7 separate regions of the Homo sapiens genome follow, and regions 1, 2, 3, 5, 6 and 7 are each linked to region 4. The links are contacts of gene promoters, found by promoter capture Hi-C in blood cells and fetal thymus (Javierre and others, 2016). All regions are on one chromosome and are shown on one strand. Each heading gives the region's core, a stretch centred on a gene start or on the middle of the fragment in contact. The rest is flanking DNA. Distances are from core to core; before and after follow the strand shown.

Region 1 (3,128 bases), core at 446-2,945, 1.2 Mb after region 4:
CTAAAGCAAATACAGAGTATCACCCCTGAACTCAAGCAACCAAGAATAAAGTGGCTTTTACTGCTTATATCATGCTATGTTAGCTAAAACAGTTTTCCCCATTTTTGTAGTGCATAATTCTAAATAATCAGATCAATAAAAGCTTTAAGATCTTTGTGAAGAGCACAGGTATTTATTTAATCTCTCCCAACATTTTTAATTTGTCTATTGTGAGTTCATATTTTGTATTTATAATACATTACATTAAAATATATCTAAATAAAATATATTCTAAATATTCACCTTTAAAAAATTAAACTATTAATAGTGATTATGAAATGATACTTGTGCCTCTAGGTCTTTGAGGTATCACCACACTATCTTCCACAATGGTTGAACTAATTTACACTACCACCAACAATGTATAATAAAAGCTTTCCTTTTTCTCTGCCACCTTGTCAGCATCTGTTGCTTTTTGACTTTTTACTAATAGCCATTTTGAATGGTGTGAGATGGTATCTCATTGTGGTTGTGATTTGCATTTCTCTAATGATCAGTGATGTTGAGCTTTTTTTTTCATATGATTGTAGGCCTCATGTATGTCTTCTTTTGAGAAGAGTTTGTTCATGTTCTTTACCCCCTTTTGAATGGGGTTTGTTTGTTTGTTTGTTTGTTTTCTGGTAAATTTGTTTAAGTTATTTGTATAGTCTTGATACTAGGTCTTTGTCAAATGGATAGATTGCAAAACTTTTCTCCCATTCTGTAGGTCGTCTGTTCACTCTGATTACAGTTTCTTTTATTGTACAGAGCTCTTTAATTAGATCCCATTTGTCAATTTTTACTTTTGCTGCAATTGCTTTTGCCATTTTCATCATGAAATCTTTGCCTGTGCCTACTTCCTGAATGGTACTGCCTAGATTTTCTTCTAGGATTTTTATAGTTTTGGGTTTTACAGTTAAGTTTTTAATCCATCTTGAGTTAATTTTTGTATACAGTGTAAAAAAGGGGTCCAGTTTTGATTTTCTGCATATGGCTAGCCAGCACTCCCAGAATCATTTATTAAATAGAAAGTCCTTTCCTCGTTGCTTGTTTTTGTCAGGTTTGTTGAAGATCAGATGGTTGTAGGTGTGCCGTTTTATTTCTACATTCTCTACTGTTCCATTGGTCTATGTGTCAGTTATTGTACCAAGACCATGCTGTTTTGGTTAGGTAGCCTTGCAGTATAATCTGAAGACAGGTAGTGTGATGCCTCCAGCTTTGTTTTTGCTTAGGATTTTCTTGGCTATTTGCGCTCCTTTTAGGTTCCATATGAATTTTAAAATAGTTTTTTTTTCTAAGTCTGTGAAGAATGCCAATGGTAGTTTAATGGGAGTATCACTGAATCTATAAATTACTTTGGGCAATATGACCATTCTTATGATATTGATTCTTCTTATCCATGAGCTTGTAATGTTTACCAGTTATATACCCATAGTAATATAAATCATTCTATTATAAAGATACATGCATGTGTATGTTCATTGAAGCACTATTCACAATAGCAAAGACATGGAATCAACCTAAATGCCCATCAATGATAGAACAGATGAAGAAAATGTAGTACATATACACCATGGAATACTATGCAGCCATAAAAAAGAACAAGATCCTGTCCTTTGCAGGGACATGGATGGAACTGGGAGACATTATCCTCAGCAAACTAATGCAGGAACAGAAAAACAAACACCACATGTTCTCACTTACAAGTGGGAGCTGAATGATGAAAACACATGGACACAGGGAGGGGAACAACACACACTGGAGCTGTTGGGGTTGTGTGGGGAGGGAGAGCATCAGGAAGAACAGACAATGGATGCTAGGCTTAATACCTAGGTGATGGGATGATCTGTGCAGCAAACCACCATGGCACACATTTACCTATTTCACAAACCTGAACATCCTGCACATGTACCCCTGAACTTAAGACAAAAGTTGAAGGAAAAAAAAAAAACTTAAAAAAAATAGTGAACATCTTTGAGAACTCTTAGCTCTGTAAATCTGGACAGTTTTCTTAGCTCAGTATTCTCATCTATAAAATCAAAAATTTAATAAATATAGTAATTGACACATGTATGTGTTCATTAAGTAGTGGGTATGGTTTTTGGTTAAGTGTAGTTACCATAGAGATTATGTAGCTACAGTTACTAAAGAGACTAGTTTTTTCCCTCATTCACAAAAATTATTAGTATTAACTTTTGATATGTTTTTAAACACATTTTGTAAAAGCAATTCAAAATTAAAATTTTTGTATGCACAAGTTAAAATAAGACCCCCATAAAAAAGAAATATACACAATAAAATCCAAAGATTTAAGACATTCTACATGTTTTTAGTGTTCTTATACATTTACATACATATTTACGCATATATACATGAATGAAGATAATTTTTGCAGTTCATATAATAGATAAGATTAATGATTTACAAAATTTGTCATAGGTAAAGAAGTATATTTGTCATAGGTAGAGAAGTATATTTGTTTCCAATTGTTTTTATGGCTACAGAATCTATTATCAAATTACACAAATCAATAACTATTTAATCTTTCTCTATTTTCCTACTAGAAAACTTGCTGCAATTAAATGCCCTTTTTGGGAGAATATCTAGAAGAAAATTGAGGAAGGAAGAAGTGAGAGATAAAGGGTATTCACATTTTAAATTTTGATAGAAATTTCTTGATTACTTTATAAAACTTATATTCAAACAGTATTTGAAATTTTCTGTTTTTTATTATTTTTATCCCAACTGAAAGTATTGAGGCATTTTTAAAAATTTTACAAATCGAACGGGAAAATAAAATCTCAGTGCTGTTATAGTTTATATAACCATCATTGAAAATGAGGTTGAGAAACTTTGATTTTCTGTGAATTGTTAACAGCCATTGACCATTTTTCTTCTGTTGGGTTTTTTGTGTTTACCATATCGATTTAAGAAAATTATTTATATATGATTAAGCTTTAATATTTATCTTCCATCTTTTCTATTGTGCTAGGCTGTCTTTTTATTTGGCTCATGGTATCTTTCTTCATAAAGAAGAGTTTAAAATTATCATTATTTTGTTAAAGTTATCTTCTCTTCCTGCATGGCTGTCTGTTTTGTTTTCTACTGCA
Region 2 (3,058 bases), core at 236-2,735, 1.1 Mb after region 4:
CACACAGGGACATAACGGGCACAGGTCTCTTGCTGGCTTCTGGCTGGCGACTATATTGTATACTCATTTAATCTCTTCTAAACTCCATCTTCACTAATCATTGATACACAGAAATGAGAAAAACTGTAACATAAGTGAAAAGTAGCACATGCATTCACATTGGGCTATTCCGGTGGTGAATAAAGAAAATTCCCTTGAATCAATTAGACTGTGATGAAAACTATGAGAATGGCATAGAACCTGAGTGGTAATTTATAATCATCTAATTCACAATGTCTTTTCTAAGTGTTCTAATAGTGATTGTGTTAGATAGAATAACGGTCCCCCAAAGATCTTCACGTCCTAATTCCCAGAACCTATGAATATGTTACATTGCTTGGCAAAGGGATTTAAGAGTGTAGTTGAAATTAAGGGTGGTAATCAGCTGATCTTAACATAAGATATCATCCTCAATTATTCAGATGGGCCCAATATATTCACTCACAATAGACTTTGATGAACCTTAAAGCTTTTTAATTATTTTTAATCCAATAGAACATCTTCCTTTTTTTGTAGTTGTTCTTGGCATTTTCCTCACCTATCTTTTATATTGTATTTATCTAAGTTATTTGCCAACTACTTAAAGAACTCCTATTGGGAATTAGCACTATGCTATTGGAGTACACAAACCATTCATTACAGCGTTATGTGCTAAAACAGCAACAAGCAAAGACAGCTAATACAGCCTTGGAGATTGTGATGTATGTATGTGATATCTTCCCCTCTTTCTTCCTGTACGTTCAGAGATTTGTGTTTGTGTGTTCAAAACGTGATCCTTGAAGAGTCATTAGAGTATGAGACACAAGTCCTGAAAGATCAAAAGAGTATATGAAGTGAAACAGGATGATAAATAAAAAAAGATTGTGCTGCTTGGGAAAAAAAGTATACATCATACAAAGTAAGTGGGGAAAATGTCATATGAAAAGGATTAGAGGATGAAGCATCCTGGGAATGGCAATTTGGCTGGAATCACTTGAATAATAGGTGGAGGTGGTAGAAGGCAAGTCAGAAAAGCAAAAATGTGAAGAGCATTATACGCCAAGTCAGAGAGTTTTGAACCTTACCCTAGGAGCAATATGAAGCTATTGCAATTTTAAATCTATGAGAGACTATGTTTGTCACTGAGAAGTCAGGAAGACAGAAACCACACTAGATATTTCAACATAGAGACTATAATAAAGGGAACTGGTTTTACAGGCGTTGGAGGCTGAATGAGCAATTGGGAACACTAAAGTAATTCAGGCATAGTAACTAATGCAATCCCGAGATAATAACTACAAGAAGCAGCTACCATCCATATGACTTTGGAAATATATAGAAGAGGTTAATTTGGATGTGTGTCCCCTCCAAATCTCATGTTGAAATGTGATTAGTGTTGGAGAAGGGGACTGACGGGAGGCGCTGAGAGCATGGGGACAGATCCCTCATAAAGAGCTGGTGCCTGAGGTGCAGTGTGGTAAGGAGTTCTCACTCTGTTAGTTCATGGAGATCTAGTTGTTAAAAAGAGTTTGGGGCTTCCCTCCCCCATCTCTCTCTCTCACTCCCTCTCTCACCACGTGACATGCTGGTCTCCCTTCACCTTCCTCCAGGATTGTGAGCTCCCTGAGGCCTCACTAGGAGCAGATGCTTCTTGTAAAACTGCAGAACCATAAGCCGAATAAACCTCTTTATAAATTAACCAGTCTTAGGTACTTATTTATAGCAATGCAAAATGGACTAATACAACTACATAAATTCAATGTGAGGAGGGGTGTTTGAATTTGAGCTCTGACTCTGAGGACAGGGTGCAGTCTAGCTGCTGCTGAACCTTTAAGTGGGCACAATGAACCTGGCATTAACATGTGGAAAGAAGCTGGAGGCTGCAAGAAGCTGACTAGCTCCTGCTAGGGCAGAGTATTGTTGCTGGGACATTGCTGGTACAGCAGATTCCTACCTTCCAGCCTTCCTCTTCCACCCCCTACTGGCAGAATTTAACAATAGGAAGCCAGTTGGCAAAGGAGATAAGATAGGCAGTTTGCAGTGCTAGACCCAGCATCAGTAGGCTGACACAGAAGGGTAGAGCTGGTGCTGAGAGGAAACAATAAATGGCGCGGTCCACTGCTTTGACCACTCAGCCTCCTAATGATATGCAATATGATACTTAAAGTCCCAACCATTATGGTGTCCATCTTGTCTCTGGGTGATGTTAATTTCTCCTTTAATTCTGTCATAATCCCAACTGTATAGTCCATAATATAAAGGCTAACATAAAGGCTATATATTTTTGTATATTAATTTATTTAAATGACATATATATATATATTCCTAACAATAAAACTCTATGCAGTTGTTATTATACTGAATTCTGTAGAATGGTAACCGGCCACAATTTATTAACACATTTCTTTACTCATCTCATATCCCCTAGGGCTTCAACAAGCTTCTCAGCTTGTCAGTATTCTTTATTCAAACTTATACTCCGCTGAGGCATGAATTCTTTGTGACTGTGTTAGGATTCTCCAGAGAAACAGAATCAATAGGATATACACAGGTATTAAAGATAAATTTATTTTGGGAACTGGCTCATGTGATTATAGAGGCCAGTAAGTTTCACTACATGGTTTCTGCATGCTGGAGAGCCAGGAACATCAGTGGTGTCATAATTCAGTCTTGAGTCTGAAGGCCTGAGCACCCAAGGCGAAAGACCTGAGAATAAGAATGTGGAGTATCACTGATATAAGAAGCCTCAGAGTCTAAAGGCCCAAGAACCTGGAGCTCTGATGTCCAGTGGCAGGAGAGGATGGATGCCCCAGCTTCAGATAAGAGAGCAAGTTTGCAGTTCCTCCACCTTTTTGTTCCACTGAAGCCCTCTAGGGATTGGATGATGCCTGCCCACATTGCTAAGGGGGAATCTTCTTTACTCAGTCTACTGATGCACATGATAATCTCTTCTGGAAATATCCTCCCAGACACACCCAGAAATAATGTTTTAACAGCCATCCGGAAATCCCTTAATGAAGGCAAGTTGACACATAAAATT
Region 3 (3,213 bases), core at 430-2,929, 1.1 Mb after region 4:
AAATAAATACATACATGTTCGGTCGGCAGTGTCCTGCCAGTAGAGATGGTAACAGAGTCAGCCCCCAGTCCAAGAGAACTAGGTGGCCACTTGGGCCAGCCTCTGGATCCATCGCTGGAACGGGGGGCTACCAAACTATGGGTATGCAGCCACAAGGGCAATCCTGGACGAGCCCCCAAATTTGTAACTGCCCAATGGGTTCACCTTTCCCACTGCCTAGACAGAGCCAACTTATCAAGGCAAGGGAATTGCAATAGAGAAAGATTAATTTACACAGAGCTAGCTGTACAGGAGACTGGATTTTTATTATTATTCAAATCAGTCTCCAGAATAGACATTTAATTAGGAGAGAGGATATTTTCTTTTTCCTACAAACTCCCATTACAATCCTTGGAAATTTAGTATTCACTTGCTGATGCAAGTTTTATGTTTCCTCTTGAGATTACTTGAAAAAGAAAGTTATTTTAACTACGTAGAAACAAAGAGATGGAATTATGCTTTAGTGAATGTACACAACTTCCAGAGGTTTTCACAGTTGTTTCATAATAGCCTGATATTAACCCTGTGAAGTACATTCTTCACACTGACATTTTACAGCATAGAAACCTGAGGCTAAGAAACAACAAACTCATTACAGTTCACATTGACAAGTCCTGAGACATCTGTCCTGGTAATTATTTTCTTTTGCCTTGGACTTTCATGGCTTCAGTTGCTACTTAAACTATCCCAAATTTGTATTTCTAGCCTAGACGTATATCTCTTAAGCTCAAGAGAAACATTCTCAACTGTTAATAATCATGGTCACTGGAAAACCACACTGGCACCTCAAAGTCTGATCCTTTCTTTCCTATTCCTGACTCCAACTTCATATTTCAATAACTTGCGATGACTAACTTCTTCCTCACACTCCTGTATTCAATCATGAAGTCCTTTTGTCTCTTAATCCTAAATATTATTACATCCAAATATTTATCTCCACTCCTACTGCTACTACTGTAGTACAGGTCACCAAATCTTTTATTTCAAGTACTACCAAACAGCTTTTTCTCTCTGTTTCTGGACTTATTTGCTTAAAATGCTTTTCTACAATATAGGCAGCAGCATTCTCAAAACGCCTATCTGATTGGGTCACTCCTGTCTTTTAAGCCTTTCCGTCAAATCCTATAAAACTTCTTTAGAAAGTATTTATAAAGCCTCCCATCATTTAGGCCCTGCCTAGATCTACAGCCTTACCAAGATGCCTCTCACACTCAGCATGCCTGCCAGGTAAAATGAAATTCTACTCATTTCTAGAAGTATCTATACTCGTACATCTCCAAACTTTCATCTATGAAGCTTACCTTACCTGGAATATACTTTTCTGCATATCCACACTTTTTTGCCCAAATGCTAGGGCTAAATTTCAGTCCTCCTACTCATCTTTCAGTTTTCATTTAATCTTTATATCTTCAAAAGACATGTAAGACTGCTAAAGTAGGTTAGGCACTTTGGTATTAGTTTGTCTAGCTCATTAATTTATTCTTTGACTTATTTGACAAAGGGTTATCTATAAATGCAGTAAAAAAAAAAAAAGTGGTTAAGAACACAAAGTCTGAAGCAAGAGCGCCTGGGTTTAATCTAGACTTGGCCCCTGTTGGCAGTGAAAGTTTATAGAAGTTGCTCTACATCTCTTTATCTCAGTTTCTCAATCTTTAAAAAGGGAAATATTATGGTACTTTCCTCAAACAACTTTTGAGGATTAACAAATATGTCTGTACATAAAACTGTGTCGAACACAGAGTATGTGACATGCTCACCCTCTAAATACCATTGCTATTTGCCAGACACAGTATGAAGCACTCAGATGTGATGACAAGAGAGGCAAGGTTCCTGCTCTTGTGGAATTTATACTCTAGTGGGAAAAAAAGAGATATCGAAAAACCCCATATAAATGATATAAATACCAACATGTCAACTGCTATGAAATAAAAGTACAGGCTGCATGAAGTCTAGGATAGGGCTATCCAATGTAGGCAAAAGCTTTTCTTGGAAAGTGACATTTATCCTGAGACCTGAAGACTGGGTGGAATTCAGTCAAGCAACGCAGGGAAGAAAATAGTAACAGAAGAGAAAAGCAACCCAGAAGGAGATCCTGTACTTTGTCCCTCACAGCACTCATGATGCTTTATTTTCATTATTTTTGTGGTACCTACTGGCCAGCTTCCACCTGACCCTGCACAGAAAAAAAAAAAGAAATAAAATCTTAAAGCTATGAACTCAATAACTGTAGCTCCCTTACAGCCCTGTTCTATTCTCAGCAATATGTGCATATCCAGCAAATGGGAGTTAATTCATGTTAAATCCTTGATATCCATCTATTGATCAAAGAGTTATCAAAAGGTTTAATTCAACAGCTCACTATTAAATAATTAGAGGGATAAATATCTTTGAAAGAGGAGGTTATACTTTTCCTATACTTTGTATAGGAAAGACTATTATATACATTTTCCATTTTTTTTGAGATGGAGTTTCGCTCTTGTTGCCCAGGCTGGAGTTCAATGGTGCAATCTTGGCTCACTGCAACCTCTGTCTCCTGTGTTCAAGTGATTCTCCTGCCTCAGCCTCCCGAGTAGCTGGGATTACAGATGCATGCCACCATCCCTGGCTATTTTTTAATTTTAATTTTTTATTTTTAATGGAGATGGGGTTTTGCCATGTTGGCCAGGCTAGTCTCGAACTCCTGACCTCAGGTGATCCGCCTACCTCAGCCTCCCAAAGTGCTGGGATTACAGACATGAGCCACTGCCCCTGGCTTATTATGTACATTTTAATGTGGGCATACAAGCAGCCCAAGTCTGCACTGTCATGCTTCTAATGCCTTCATTTCTTACAGCAGCATAGCTCTCTGCCAGTAGCCATCTCAAACTATCTGATGCAGGCACTAATGTTCTTTCTGGCCACACTAGCATACAACTTTATTTATAGATAAGTATCTAGGCTGGGAAATGTGCCAACAACTTTCATTATCAGCCAAAGAAAAATTATCAGCAAAGTCTAAATTTTAAATTGAACCAGCTAAGAAAAGATTCTAATTGTCGTCTTTATCCCCAAAGAAATGAGTAGCTTTGAACCTGATTCAGCTAAGATACTGAGTAAAAGGGTGGATACAATTTACTCCAATGTGTATTAGCAGATAATGGTGGGGTTCTATTTTTGTTCCCTAGAGGCTGTATG
Region 4 (3,134 bases), core at 332-2,831:
AGGGCAAAAGCTTCAAGAAGAAAACAAAATAAAAGGGGAGAAGCTTCCAGGAAAGGGATCTAACTTTGGAATCTGCTAACTGGTAGCAAGAAACGGCAGGGCGTGCGGGTGGAAATGTCTTTTTCCTCAAACAGTGTCTTTCTGTAATAGCAAGAAAGCTGCGGCGTCCAGAATGGGAAGAAGTGGATTTTTTTTTTCTTTTTTAAACAAACTCGACATCACTTTATGCTTTAGAGAAAGGGATGGAAATAAATATCATATAAAATACAACCAAATTCCCCGAAGACTTTCCCCCAACTTATTTCAATCCTACTTAAGCGACTATAGGTAAAGGTGGAAATAGGGCTATGGGCTGAGAACGCATGGGTGGGCTGCCCTGGGTGTATTCCAACGGAACCTGCACTAAAGAGGAAGTCTTTTTGCAAAGGAGAGAAAGGAAGAGGAGGGAAACAGAGGGGAAGGGAACTGCTGAAGGTTTCCCTGAATTGCTTATCAGCAACTCATTTAACTCACTTTCGGATATCTGCTACAACCAGCCACATGCACACCCCATCGGAGCACACCTTACCTATTTGCACGCTGCTCGGAAAGGCTCCCATGGCGAGTCCCCAAAATCCAGAAAATAACAAGACAATCTGTCTGGAAATAATCCTCATCTTCTTTTCTCCTCTCCCTGGCGCGCGCTCTCTCTCTTTCTCTCGCACTCTTCCTAAAGGCTGTTCAGAGAAGCATTGAAGACGATGGCGCTAAAATTAAAATCAACCAAAAAAAAAAAAAAAAAAAGAAAAGAAAGAAAAGAAAGAAAAAAAAGGAAAGAGGTTTCGGTGGTTTAAGATTATGACTAGTTCTCCTTAGCAATCCATCGCGAGCCGCCAGATTTTTCCCGCAGTCTCCATAGCCCTGGGAGAGGTTTTCTGTCCGGCTGCAAATGTTGCACATGCAAAAGATGGTGGTGGAGCGTCTAGTGGCTGCTCGCAGGGATGAGACATGCGCTCTATCTTTGCCTCACTCGCACTCGCGCTCGCCCCTTGCTTTCTCACATACACACAAACACTGGCGCCGCGGCCGCCACACGCGCTCTCCAGCTCGCATCAGCCGACATCCCCCAGCAAGCCTGCACCAGCCCGGAGCATCGCTGCCCTCCTGGCGTCCCCTCCTCGAGCGCGCACTCCCTCCGCACGCCCCTCGCCCACCGCTCGGCTGGCTTCACCCCCTGGGTGCTCACCGGAGCGCCCCAGTCTCCCGGACGCTCCGGAGCCAGTCTGGTGTCAGGTTTTCCCTTCTGACCACTCGCTGACTCCCTCCTCTTTTCTTCCTCGGTTCGCAGAGGGACCGACTCTGGGGATGGGCACCCCCAGCGCCCCTCTCTTGGTTTTCCTGGCACCTCTGCTTCTCGGCTGCGCTAGGCAGAAAATCCGCCCACGGGCCAGGTCTGCAAGCCCCAATCGGGGGCTCCGGGGGGTTAGTACCTCCCCATGCCCCCAGGCCCCTGCCGCATCCTTGCAGGTTCGTGAGGAGGACGGGCTGCCTCCCTCTCCTACAGTCCTGGCTTCCCTCTCAGCCTAGCCCTCTTCTGCCACTGGGCTGCGCGCGGGGGACTCCGGTCCTCGCTGCAGCAAAGATTTCTCACCAGCAAACAGCCCGGGAATCTGGAGAGCCTGACAAGGGAATGGATGAGGTGAAAGGGTTCAGAGAGGGATGGGAGGAGAAAAGACAGGCAAAGGGCAGCCCCTGGCGGGTTTAAGAGGCCAGGACCAGGATGAAAGAATTGGAGGAGGTAAGGATGGGGAAGAGAGCCAGAGAAGTTGAAACATCCTGGGAAGGGGAGGAGGGGGTAAAAGGTTATTTTAAATAACTGACGAAGTTTAGGGTACTGAACGGGATGGGGAAAAGACTGAGAAATGAAAATTGAAAGAGGCCTCTAACATTCTCTTGGAAAGGCATGAAGCAGGGATAGGAATAAGAACTGCGTGAAGTGTAAAGTAGGAAAAGTGATTAAAGATTCGATTGCTTTCTATACAGTCACCCATTCCGGAGGACTCTTTCCTTCTGTGCTGTGGCCCATTGCAGGAGCAGGAGGGACACAGCGCAAAGGCTGATGAAGGACCAGAGGGGCAGTGCTTGGGGCAGTGGGCACAGGTGTCTGACAGGAAGATAGTGTTTCGTGCACATCTCCTCTTGTCTGGGACTCTGGAATGCTCACTCTGCTCCACGCCACCTCCAGGTAGACTTAAGCACTTCAGTGATGATGTCAATAGTTGTTTTGACTGGGTAGAAGTGAAAATGAATTATCCTAGAAAGTTTTGGGGTTACAGTCTCACTTGCTCTCCAGAGTCACCTTTAAGATTGTCCTTTCATCTGCCTGTCCTGGACTGAGCTTGAACCACACTCAGAAGCAGTCACTGTGGTAGCCGTGAGTGACCGGTTTCTGATTTCCTCTGTATGGTTTGAGATTTCCTGATCTAGTTAGTAAATACAATCTCCTGTTCCAATAAGCTGTGTGAGAGAATCATTAGAAGGAGAGGTTCTCCTTAAACGTTAGGGAACCTAGGGTGATGTCTGCCATTAAATTTTTAAAAAGAATATAGCAAATGCCTAGGTTTGCCTGATATAATATTTGAGACTACAATGCTTAAAGTGGAATTCTTGCAAGGGACTTACAGAAAGCCTGGTAACGGCTTTTTGAAATATACATTACCTTAACTCTTTCAAAATACTTTATTTGGTGTCACTGATTACCTGTATTTGTAGTTTGTAGATGACATTTTAAAATCCCTGCTAAAACTTGAGTGCTTTTCTATTTCCTAAGTTTTGAATTTTATTTTTAAAATTGCATCTTTAAAATAAGTGTCTGCTTTCCCGTTACATTTCACCACAGATTGTTATGAAAAAAAAAACCTAATTGTAACTGTATTTTACAAATCATACATTTGTCATTTTAGTTTGTGAAGTTTTAGTCTTGCAAGTCAAGTGAAATTTGAAGCATTTTTCCTTTTTTTATTTTTCTGTGTTAAAAAACAAGGCTGTGAATAATAGCATTCTGTTTTCTCTTGAAAAAGGATAATAGAGTATGACACATAAAATTCAAGTTAAATTAAAATTTCAAAATCCACCAAACTGTTAAACTCATCACT
Region 5 (3,092 bases), core at 540-3,039, 1.1 Mb after region 4:
GAGGGAGAGGGAGAAGAAAGAAAGAAAGAAAGAAAGAAAGAAAGAAAGAAAGAAAGAAAGAAAGAAAGAAAGAAAGAAAGAAAGAAAGAAAGAAAGAAAGAAAGAAAGGAAAGAAAGAGAAAGAAAGAGAAAGGAGAGGAGAGGAGCAGAAAGAAAGAAGGAAAGAAGGAAGGAAGGAAGGAAAGAAAGAATGAAAGAAAGAAAGAAAGAGAGAAAGAAAGAAAGAGAAAAAGAGAAAGAAGGAAAATTTTGCTAAAGATTACACGGCAAATTATAACCTCAGATCACTCTGACCCCAAAGCCCATGTTCTTAACCTCACCAATATACAGTCATTTGAAAAATAACTTTAAAATCAAGAGAAAATCTCATCTGCAACAACAAGAACATTATATTACACCAACATACTAACTGAAAGATATATTTATTCCAGTTTTAAACTGATGTTGTATGTTGAAAATAATCTGGGTTTTCCAAGCAGAGAAGTAAACATCATACAGTAATGCATCCTGTAACATTTTAGTCAACGACCAACCACATAAAGACAGTGGTCCTTTAAGATTATAATAGAGCTGAAAAATTTTTATCACCTAGAGATTTTGTGGCTGTCATGCTACCCTACCATGATACATTATTCAAGTGCTTGTGGTTATGCTGGCATAAACAATGCTACTGTCCTTTCAGTAGTATACAAGTATAGCACATGTAATTATGTATAGTACATAATACTTGATAATAAACAACTCTGTTACTGGTTTAAATATTTACTATACTTTTTATCATTATTTAAAAGTGTACTCCTTCCACTTAAATATATATATTTTTACAAAGTTAACTATAAAATAGCTTCAGGCAGGGGCGATTCCAGAAGAAGGCATTGTCATCATAGGAGTTAACAGCTTTGTGCCTGCTATTACCCCTGAAGACCTTCCAGTAGGACAAGATGGAGAGGTGAAAGACAATGATTTGAGTGACCCTGATCTTGTATAGGACTAGGCTAATCTGTGTGTTTGAGTCTTAATTTTTTTAAAAAAGTTTGAAAGTTAAAAAAAACACACACATTTTAAAAATAGAGAAACACTTATAGAATAATTACATAAAGAAATAAAATGTTTATACAACAGTACAATGTATTTGTATTTTAAACTAGGTGTTATTCCAAGAGTCAAAAAATTTAAAAAAGTGTATAAAGTAAAATTACAATACCACAGTAAGCTAAGTTTAATTTATTATTGAAGAAAAAAATTTGTTTAATAAATTGAGTGTAGCCTAGGTGTACAATGTTTATAAAGTCTACTACAGTGGTGTACTCTAATGTCCTAGGCCTTCACATTTACTCCACTCACTCACAGACTCACTCAGAGCGCCACCTTCAGTACTGCAAGCTCCATTCATGGTAATTGCCCTAAACCATGTACCATTTTTTATCTTTTATACTGTACCTTTTCTATATTTAGATGTGTTTAGATACACAAATACTTAACATTGCATTAAAATTGCCTACAATAGTCAGTAGAGAAACATGCTGTACCTGTTTGTAACCTAGGAGCAACAGGCTATAACGTATAGCCTAGGTGGATAGTAGGCTGTACCGTCTAGGTTTGTCTAAGTGCACCCTATGATGGTTGCACAATGATGAAGTCACCTAATGATGCATTTCTCAGAATGTGCCTCTGTTGCTAGGCTACATATGACTGTATATTCAAGAACATGGTTAAATCATCTCATTGTACTTAGCCAGTGCTACAGCAAATATTTATTGAAATAAGCTCACCTCCTAATGGGATTTATAACTAGTTTTATTAAATAGGAATTTCCATTGAAATAGCATTTGCTACTTAGGGTTTCACCAGCAAACAATATAATCTCTCATCCAGGAATTTAGATCTTAAGTGAATTTGAAAGGGACATATCAGATACATAGTAGATATAGTAATATAACAATAATACACATTGATCATGATTTGGGTGAATTCTCTCAGTTGCTCTCTCTCTTTCTCTCTCTCTCTGTCACTCTATTTCTTCTCTCCTCTCTCTCTCTCTCTGTCTTATTCTTCAGTTTGTGAATGTGCACATGTAGAAACTTAGGAATCTGTATGTGAATGGTTGTTAAGGTAGCTTGTCTTGAGAGTTTCTTTACTACAGCAATGACTGATAAAGGATCACTGCCAAATTGTGGACACAAACACAAAAAGAGACAAAATTAGAGAGCAAGAGACAAAATAAAATCGAAGAACCAGTGACACCAGGTCTACTAGGGCTGAATTACCAAGGAAAGGATAGCAGTTCAACACATTTGCTTCAAGTCTACCGCCCAGTAGCCTGGAGTAAATACACTGGGCTATTCTCTTTTCCTTTTCCCAAATAGGATCGGGGGGTGAACTTTTTATTTATAGAAGAAAATAGTTACAGGAAACAGAAGAGGTGGTTAGAATGCAGTCTGTAACCTTAGCCCAAATTTTCCCTCTTTATTCTCAGAGAAAGTCATATATATATGGAGATAGAGAGAGAGAGAGAGCAGGAGAGAGAAAGAGAAAGAGGATTCCTTGTACTTTTTTTTCCTATTTTCTGCCTACCAAAATTTTGACAATCCTTTTTCCTTGAACTATATCTTTTTATTTGAATCAGATGTTGATTAATGTTTTCTTTTGATATGTTTCAATCAATTCTCAGATGTGCTTCTTCTAGTAGGGTTTCTGCATTTTCACTGATTTATGATTTATATGCTCTACTAATCCTCATGATGAATAATCTGTCAAAAACCACTCATATATAGTACTTGTCAGACAAGCAAAAATATTTTAAGTGAAAGAAAATCAAAACAATCAGTACCACTTTAACATTTATGGGTTCATGTAATACTTGGATGAAGACTGTGTGTGTATACGTATGCATATATATACATATACCTGCATATATTCATATGTATATGCATGTACACATACAAAACTGTGTGTGTGTTAGTGTAAAACCCTGCAACCAAATCTTCTGTTGTATTTTTTTGGCTGATTAAAATTTATTATGCACTACTGGCCTCAACTTCTAAATTATCAACATTGGTGAAATATAAACCAGCAAGGGGGTATTCAGTAAC
Region 6 (3,293 bases), core at 586-3,085, 1.1 Mb after region 4:
GAAAGGGTTAGTTTAGTACTCACTAGTAAAAATTGGGTGATACCTGATACCTGATGGATTTTGTTGACATTTTGTTTCATGTTAAAGAGAAAAATTTTATCCCCAAAAGCCAAATAGAAGAAAAAATAGTCCTGCAGTCTTTCTAAAACTAGCTTGCATATATATATATATATAGAGAGAGAGAGAGAGTCATATATATAGACATATATAGTCATATATATAGAGTCATATATAGAGTCATATATAGTCATATGTATATAGTCATATATATATAGTCATATATATAGTCATACATAAATATATAGTCATATATATATATATATATATATATATATATATATATATATATATATAGTCTGGCTCTATCACCCAGGCTGGAGTGCAGTGGTATGATCTCTGCTCACTGAAACCTCTACCTCCCAGGCTCAAGCGATCCTCCCACCTCAGCCTCCCAAGTAGCTGGAACCACAGGCACACACCATCACTCCCAGCTAATTTTTATTTTTTTGTAGAGAAGGTGTTTCACCATGTTACCCAGGCTGGTCTCAAATTCGTGAGCTCAAGCAACCCGCCCTCCTAGGCCTCCCAAAGTGCTGTTATTGCAGGCATGATCCACCCAACTCAGCCCTACCTTGCATTTGTAACACATAAAATTTTGATGAACCCATGCCACCCTGATCCCTGAATTATATCCCTTTGCACCCATAAAATCTGGTTTTCACAATTATTCTGAGTTCCATTAAAATATTCTCATGAAATGCCATGTGGATACCACGTACCTTCTTACCTGTTCAATTTGCTTATCCATCTTTGCTTTCTGAGAGGTGCTATTTATTTATCTTCCTACAATATCTTCTATTTTCTAATGTTGTTTTCACTGAAATTTGAGTATTCAATACAAAAAGCCCAGAGACAGAATTGCTGGCAACAGATGGTTCTCAAAACGTAGTCTCAGACCAACAGTTTGAGAATCACCTAGGAACTTAGAGATACAAATTCCCAGCTCCACTCTAGAACAACTGAGTCAGAAACTCTGGGGTGGGGCCCAGCAATCTGTGCTTTAATAAGCCATCCTTTGGGTGATTCTGATTTATGCGAAGGTTTCAGGATTATTGGATGCCATAGTACCAACTGCAATTTAAGGTTTATGAAAGCACCTGCCTTGGGGTCAAACCACTTTATGGCTGTGTGATCTTGGAAGAGGATCTCAACTTCTCTAAACCTCATTGTTCAATGGAAATAATAATTGTAATATTTAAATGAATTAATTTATATAAAGCAAGAAGCATAGTGCATGATAAACAGGTAGCTCTTATTGTAGAGATTACAACCATGATAATGATAATGACGGATGTGCAAATTAAAAAAAACTTTTATGCTGCATTTTTCACTTTCAATTTATACTTGCCCCAATACATCTCTTTTATGTATATTAAGCTTCTTTTCTGATACAAGTAATGGTGTAAGGTGGTGGGAAGGAGCACAAGCTCTGGGGCCAGGCAGTCCGGATAGAAATCTCTGTTCCACCTACAGTTTTAGATTTAGCAAATAAAATATAGGATATGTAGGTAAATTTGAATTTCGGATAGTGAATATTTTTAAGTTTAATTATACCCAATGAAATATTTAGAACACACATAAAAATTTGTTTATCTGAAGTTAAAATTTACCTGGGGACCTGTATTTTATCAAGCAACCCTCCCTGCACCACTTATAACTGTGAGGTATTACCAAGTTACTTAACCTCTCTGTGTCCATTTCCTCATCATTAACAAATGAATAATAATAGTATCTACAGTTTAGATTTGCTGTGAAGAATATAAACTACGTAGGTATTATACCTATACTTGTGTGTACATATATATTATATATAAAACAAATACCACCCTGGAAATAGTACTCAGTCTAATATATTGTTGTTAATTACTCATAAAACCTAACCAGGTTTTTATTTTAAACCATGACAAGGCCTCTAATTTATTCTTCTGAAAACAATGCTTAGGAATCTTGCAGAGTAGAGGATATTGGTTAGTACAGGAAACACTTACACTTTAGTAATACAACTAGATACTTGTAAAATATGTAATTCTATTGCAGTAGAATTCATTAGCATATAAATGCTTCTTTCAACAAGAGAAACAAGAACACAGACTTCATAACTGCTGCATATAAAAACTTTTTTACATCTATTTCTAAAGCCTGACAGTCATTATGCCAAATAACCAAAGCTTTTACTAAACTCTTACAGATTTTTTTTGAATTCTAATGAATTTCAAAAGCAGCCCTATAAAATAACTAGTACTAGGTAAGTTATTTTTCATAGAACAAAAACAACCTTGAAGATTTTGAGGTTTTCACAGTTTATTTCCTTTGGATGCATTTACTGTGAGAGGTGAAAATCTATAGCTGAGTTGTTAGGTTAGGTAATAATTTTTACATCACATGTTTTAAAGCTGGGAATAGGATCTGTGGGTTTTATTTTCATTTGTCTTTTTTTCTCTGGTAGGAAAATTTGTCAAGAATACCTTTTTAGAAAACATTTTTTAGAGCAGCTTTAGGTTCATGGCAAGTTCAAGAGAAAGGTAAAAAGAATTCCTATATCTATCCTCTCCCCACAAAAACATGTACAGTCTCCCCAGTTACCAACACTCCCCACCACAGGTGGTACATTTGTTACAACTGATGAACCTACACAGACACATCATTACCACTGAAAACCTATAGTTTTCATTAAGGTTCACTCTTGGTGTCTTATAATCTATCAGTTTGGACGAATGAATAATGACATGTGTCCACCATTATAGTGGATATGCCACATTTTCCCTCCCTTAAAAATCCTCCTTGTTCTGCCTATTCATCCCTCCCTCCTTCCCTCAAGCCCTGGCAACCACTGATCTCTTTATTGCTGCCACAGTTTTGCCTATTCCAGAATTTCATATACACGTGGTTGGAATCATACATTGTGTAGCCTTTCACACTGGCATCTTTAACTTAGTAATATGCCTTCAAGGTTCTTCCATGTCTTTTCATGGCCTGATGGCTCATTTCTTTTTAGCACTGAGTAATTTTCTCTTATCTAGATGTATCACAGTTTATCCATTCACCTATTGAAGGACAAGTTGGTTACTTTCATGTTTTGGTAATTATGAATAAAGCTACTATAAATATTTGTGTGAAGGTTTTTGCACGGACATGTTTTCAACTCCTTGGCGTGTGATTGCTGTTTTGCATGTTAAAACTATGTATGTTTAAAAAAATAGGTCAAATACTTGCATAGACCCCTCAGCAAAGAA
Region 7 (3,193 bases), core at 141-2,640, 1.3 Mb after region 4:
CCGGCTAGAGTGCAGTGGCACAATCATGGCCCACTTTAACCTCAAACTCTTGGGATCAAGCAATGCAATCCTCCCATCCCAGCCTCCTGAGTAGCCAGAACTACAGGTGTGTACCACTAGGCCTGGCTACATTTTCTTTTAAATTTTTTATAGCGACAAGGTCTCACTATGTTGCCCAGGTTGGTCTTGAATGCCTGGCCTCAAATCATCATTCTGCCTTGGCCTCCCAAAGTGCTGGGATTTTAGTCATGAGCTACTGCACCTGGCTCAAAAATGCATTCTTAAGCCAATAATCCAATAATAAAAATTCTCTTATGTAATCTAGCTCTTCCCAAACGTGAATTATTCTGAGATGAGTAGGAAAATTAATTAAAACCAGTATTCCTTTAACTGAGATTTCTGTATCCATTTTACTGAAACTTCTACAGCCATGACACATTGAATTTATATTGTAACATATAAAGCAAACGTTGTGTCTATAAAACATGAAAAAATTATTGCAGGGGAGTTTTTTGTAACGTCAGCTTTAGTTTATGGCTAATAAGATCAGCTAAACAATGTTCTATTGTCTACACTTAACTGAGTAATTTTGGACTGAATGCTATAAAAAAAAGTTGGCAATTTGATTAATTGATTCACCTGACTTTGTGTAACCATAGCCTTTATAATTCCAAAATGCAGTAAAAACATTTTATTTGTGTTTCAGAATAGTCAACACTCGATGAAAAAATACATTCCTTAAAATTAACCTGTAAATATTTTGTCTAATTAGAAGCAATTTAAGAAGGATGATTCAAATATTTCCAAAAGAAGGTTAATATTGAATATTTTCCTTATCTTTAGAATTTTCACATTATTTCAAGTATGTACATTCAAGGTCCATTTAAGTGTTCTATTGTACAAGTTTGAGTTTCATGTAATGTCTGCACTTCCCTAAGCAAAATAACAATTTGAATACTATGGAAAGTACAGTCATGCATCATTGAATAAGGATACGTTCTGAGAAATACACAGTTGGGCGATTTCATCACTGTGTAAACATCATAGAGTGTTTTACACAATCCTAGATGTTATCTCCTACTACACACCTAGGCTATAAGGTATAGCCTATTCCTCCTAAACTACAAACCTGTACACCATGTTCTGTACTGGATACTACAGGCAATCGTAACACAGTGGTAAGTATTTGCGTATCTAAACTAGAAAAGGTACAGTAAAAACATGGTAATATAATCTTATGGGACCAATGTTTTCTACACAATCCATCATTAACTGAAACATTTTTATGCAGTGCATGAATCTATTTGAGATTTTTTATATTATTATACATATTTTATCCTAATATATGTTCATACAAAATTTCATTTAAATTTTACGATCATTGCATTCTCTGTGGTCAGAAATAATGGTATAGGCAAATGAATAATTCTTTGCTTTCTTATGTATATGCCTTTAATCATAGAAATGGTTTGGTTTTGATTACTTCAAAATTAATTCATTGTTTTCCTAGGTCACATCTTTATGTGAGTGAATGATGAGTGAGTAAATGAGCAAATAAATTCTTGTGTCCATTTTTTTTCCAGTAGGATCTAAACAGAAATGAAGCCTACCAAACACAGAAACATTTTTTATATGCATGTCACAGGGCTTTAATTTTGAACTTTGTTTTGAAATGAAAGAATTCCTATTACATGGAAATTATGTCAATACAAGTTTTTAAATATCATTAATAAGCACTTAATGTTGCTCTTAGATGAATTTTATGCATTTAGTAGTATGTATGATTCCTTGAGACAAAATGAAAAGATAGGTAATTCCCAGAAAGCACCCTAAAGCTGAAGCCATTACAAAACTACAGATTTCTTATTAAAAGGAATATGCATTATTTTGTAATTCAGTAAATATATATTGGTTACCTAAAATGCAGCATTATAGTAAAGGCTAATAATAAAACAATATAAAATATAGACATCACTCCAGTTCTCAGATACCTTACAGATTAATACATCACTAGATTAGAATCCGTAAGACTTTCAGAGATATGGATAGAAAACAAAATGACTTAGATTTTGGAAAGTATATCATAACATAAAAAAGTGTAATGCTTGATTCCTTCAATGTAATATCGTAATACACATTTATTATAAAGATGCTGATGTAGACCAAGTCATTTCTACCTCTTCTTATTAAAATCATTTGAGTCTATTTTACATTTTTTTGAAATCTCCTGTGATCTCAAATTTCAACCCTTGCAGACAAATTTGATTTTGTAAGTAATTAACAAACTGTAGAATTATAAGAATATTTTTAGCTATAATAGCAAAGTAAAGCATATTTAAGTTTGAATTGGTTGAAAGAAAAAAATTCTAACAATCCACAACTTCTGTCTCTTTCCAGAAAGAAGTTAACAGTATCCCTGATGCATTTACTCCACAGTCTCTACCTCAGTTTAGGAATTTTTGTTTTTTCTTCAGTTCATTGTCCTCTTCTAAAGTATAAGTTTCAGTGGTTTTATAAGTAAACTGCTTAATAATTGCTTAATCCTTCCATAGATCAGTTTCCTCATCTGTAAGATGTGGATCATAAATGTGCCCACATCACTAGGTTTTTGTTGGAATTAAATAAAAACTGTATATAAACCATTAAAATAGAGTGCCACCAGTTCAATCACAGGCTAATTCATATACTTTAGCTTTAAGAGTCCAGTTTTCCTCATACACTCAAAAAACTGTCTCTTATCATTGATTCTGTCTTCCACATAATGTGTTATCTTTCTCAAGATAATGATCTTTGTCAAGATAATTTTTATCAGGCTGCAGATATACCCTGCCAGGTGAAAAAAAATAATACTTCATGTCTGTTCTGAGATAACGATTCATTTCTCTGTGCCTTTCCATAGCAAAGTACTCACCACAGTAATTTTATCTCTGTTTCTTATTTCCCAGTGTTTTTCATTTTCCTCCAACTAAGTTTCTATTCTCACAACTAAGTAAAACTGTACAAATCCAAGTCATCTATAACTTCCACATTGTCAAACCCACGTGACTCTGTACATGCCTTTTCTAACTCTGTAAAGTACTTATGAACATCTGCGGTCCCTTTCCTTGGGTCTTCTAGTCAATCATCAGCAAGATCCCTTATATTCTCAGTCTCTTCTCTACAATTTCATTCATCTTAGTGGATTAATTCAACC

What was found. Contacts are between HindIII fragments. The CHiCAGO score rates a contact against its expected background, and 5 or more counts as called.
Region 1: a fragment that was not itself captured here is called in contact with the fragment with the promoter of GRIA4 in region 4 in 2 of 17 cell types (non-activated CD4 T cells and total B cells); the score reaches 5.5 in non-activated CD4 T cells.
Region 2: a contact is called between a fragment that was not itself captured here and the fragment with the promoter of GRIA4 in region 4, in 1 of 17 cell types (naive CD8 T cells). The highest score is 7.7, in naive CD8 T cells.
Region 3: a contact is called between a fragment that was not itself captured here and the fragment with the promoter of GRIA4 in region 4, in 2 of 17 cell types (activated CD4 T cells and naive B cells). The highest score is 6.3, in activated CD4 T cells.
Region 5: a fragment that was not itself captured here is called in contact with the fragment with the promoter of GRIA4 in region 4 in 1 of 17 cell types (naive CD8 T cells); the score reaches 5.0 in naive CD8 T cells.
Region 6: a fragment that was not itself captured here is called in contact with the fragment with the promoter of GRIA4 in region 4 in 1 of 17 cell types (naive CD8 T cells); the score reaches 8.9 in naive CD8 T cells.
Region 7: a fragment that was not itself captured here is called in contact with the fragment with the promoter of GRIA4 in region 4 in 1 of 17 cell types (naive CD8 T cells); the score reaches 7.5 in naive CD8 T cells.

Annotation. Positions count from the first base shown.
Region 1 is chr11:104,445,467-104,448,594 of GRCh38, reverse strand. No RefSeq gene overlaps it. Among named protein-coding and RNA genes, the nearest start is that of LINC02552, 160 kb to the left of the region's middle. The HindIII fragment of the contact is 2,560 bases long and covers 416-2,975 here.
Region 2 is chr11:104,530,239-104,533,296 of GRCh38, reverse strand. No RefSeq gene overlaps it. Among named protein-coding and RNA genes, the nearest start is that of LINC02552, 78 kb to the left of the region's middle. The HindIII fragment of the contact is 1,950 bases long and covers 511-2,460 here.
Region 3 is chr11:104,487,308-104,490,520 of GRCh38, reverse strand. No RefSeq gene overlaps it. Among named protein-coding and RNA genes, the nearest start is that of LINC02552, 120 kb to the left of the region's middle. The HindIII fragment of the contact is 684 bases long and covers 1,338-2,021 here.
Region 4 is chr11:105,608,520-105,611,653 of GRCh38, reverse strand. It overlaps GRIA4 (glutamate ionotropic receptor AMPA type subunit 4), which reads right to left and starts at 1,581. Exons shown (of 17, transcript NM_000829.4): 1 at 1,226-1,581; 2 at 569-746. The coding sequence starts at 656. RefSeq lists a silencer at 405-605. The HindIII fragment of the contact is 4,294 bases long and covers 46-3,134 here.
Region 5 is chr11:104,546,745-104,549,836 of GRCh38, reverse strand. No RefSeq gene overlaps it. Among named protein-coding and RNA genes, the nearest start is that of LINC02552, 61 kb to the left of the region's middle. The HindIII fragment of the contact is 4,818 bases long and covers 1-3,092 here.
Region 6 is chr11:104,471,356-104,474,648 of GRCh38, reverse strand. No RefSeq gene overlaps it. Among named protein-coding and RNA genes, the nearest start is that of LINC02552, 140 kb to the left of the region's middle. The HindIII fragment of the contact is 791 bases long and covers 1,440-2,230 here.
Region 7 is chr11:104,350,083-104,353,275 of GRCh38, reverse strand. All of the region lies in intron 3 of LOC102723879 (a long non-coding RNA gene), which reads right to left. Among named protein-coding and RNA genes, the nearest start is that of PDGFD, 190 kb to the right of the region's middle. The HindIII fragment of the contact is 6,828 bases long and covers 1-3,193 here.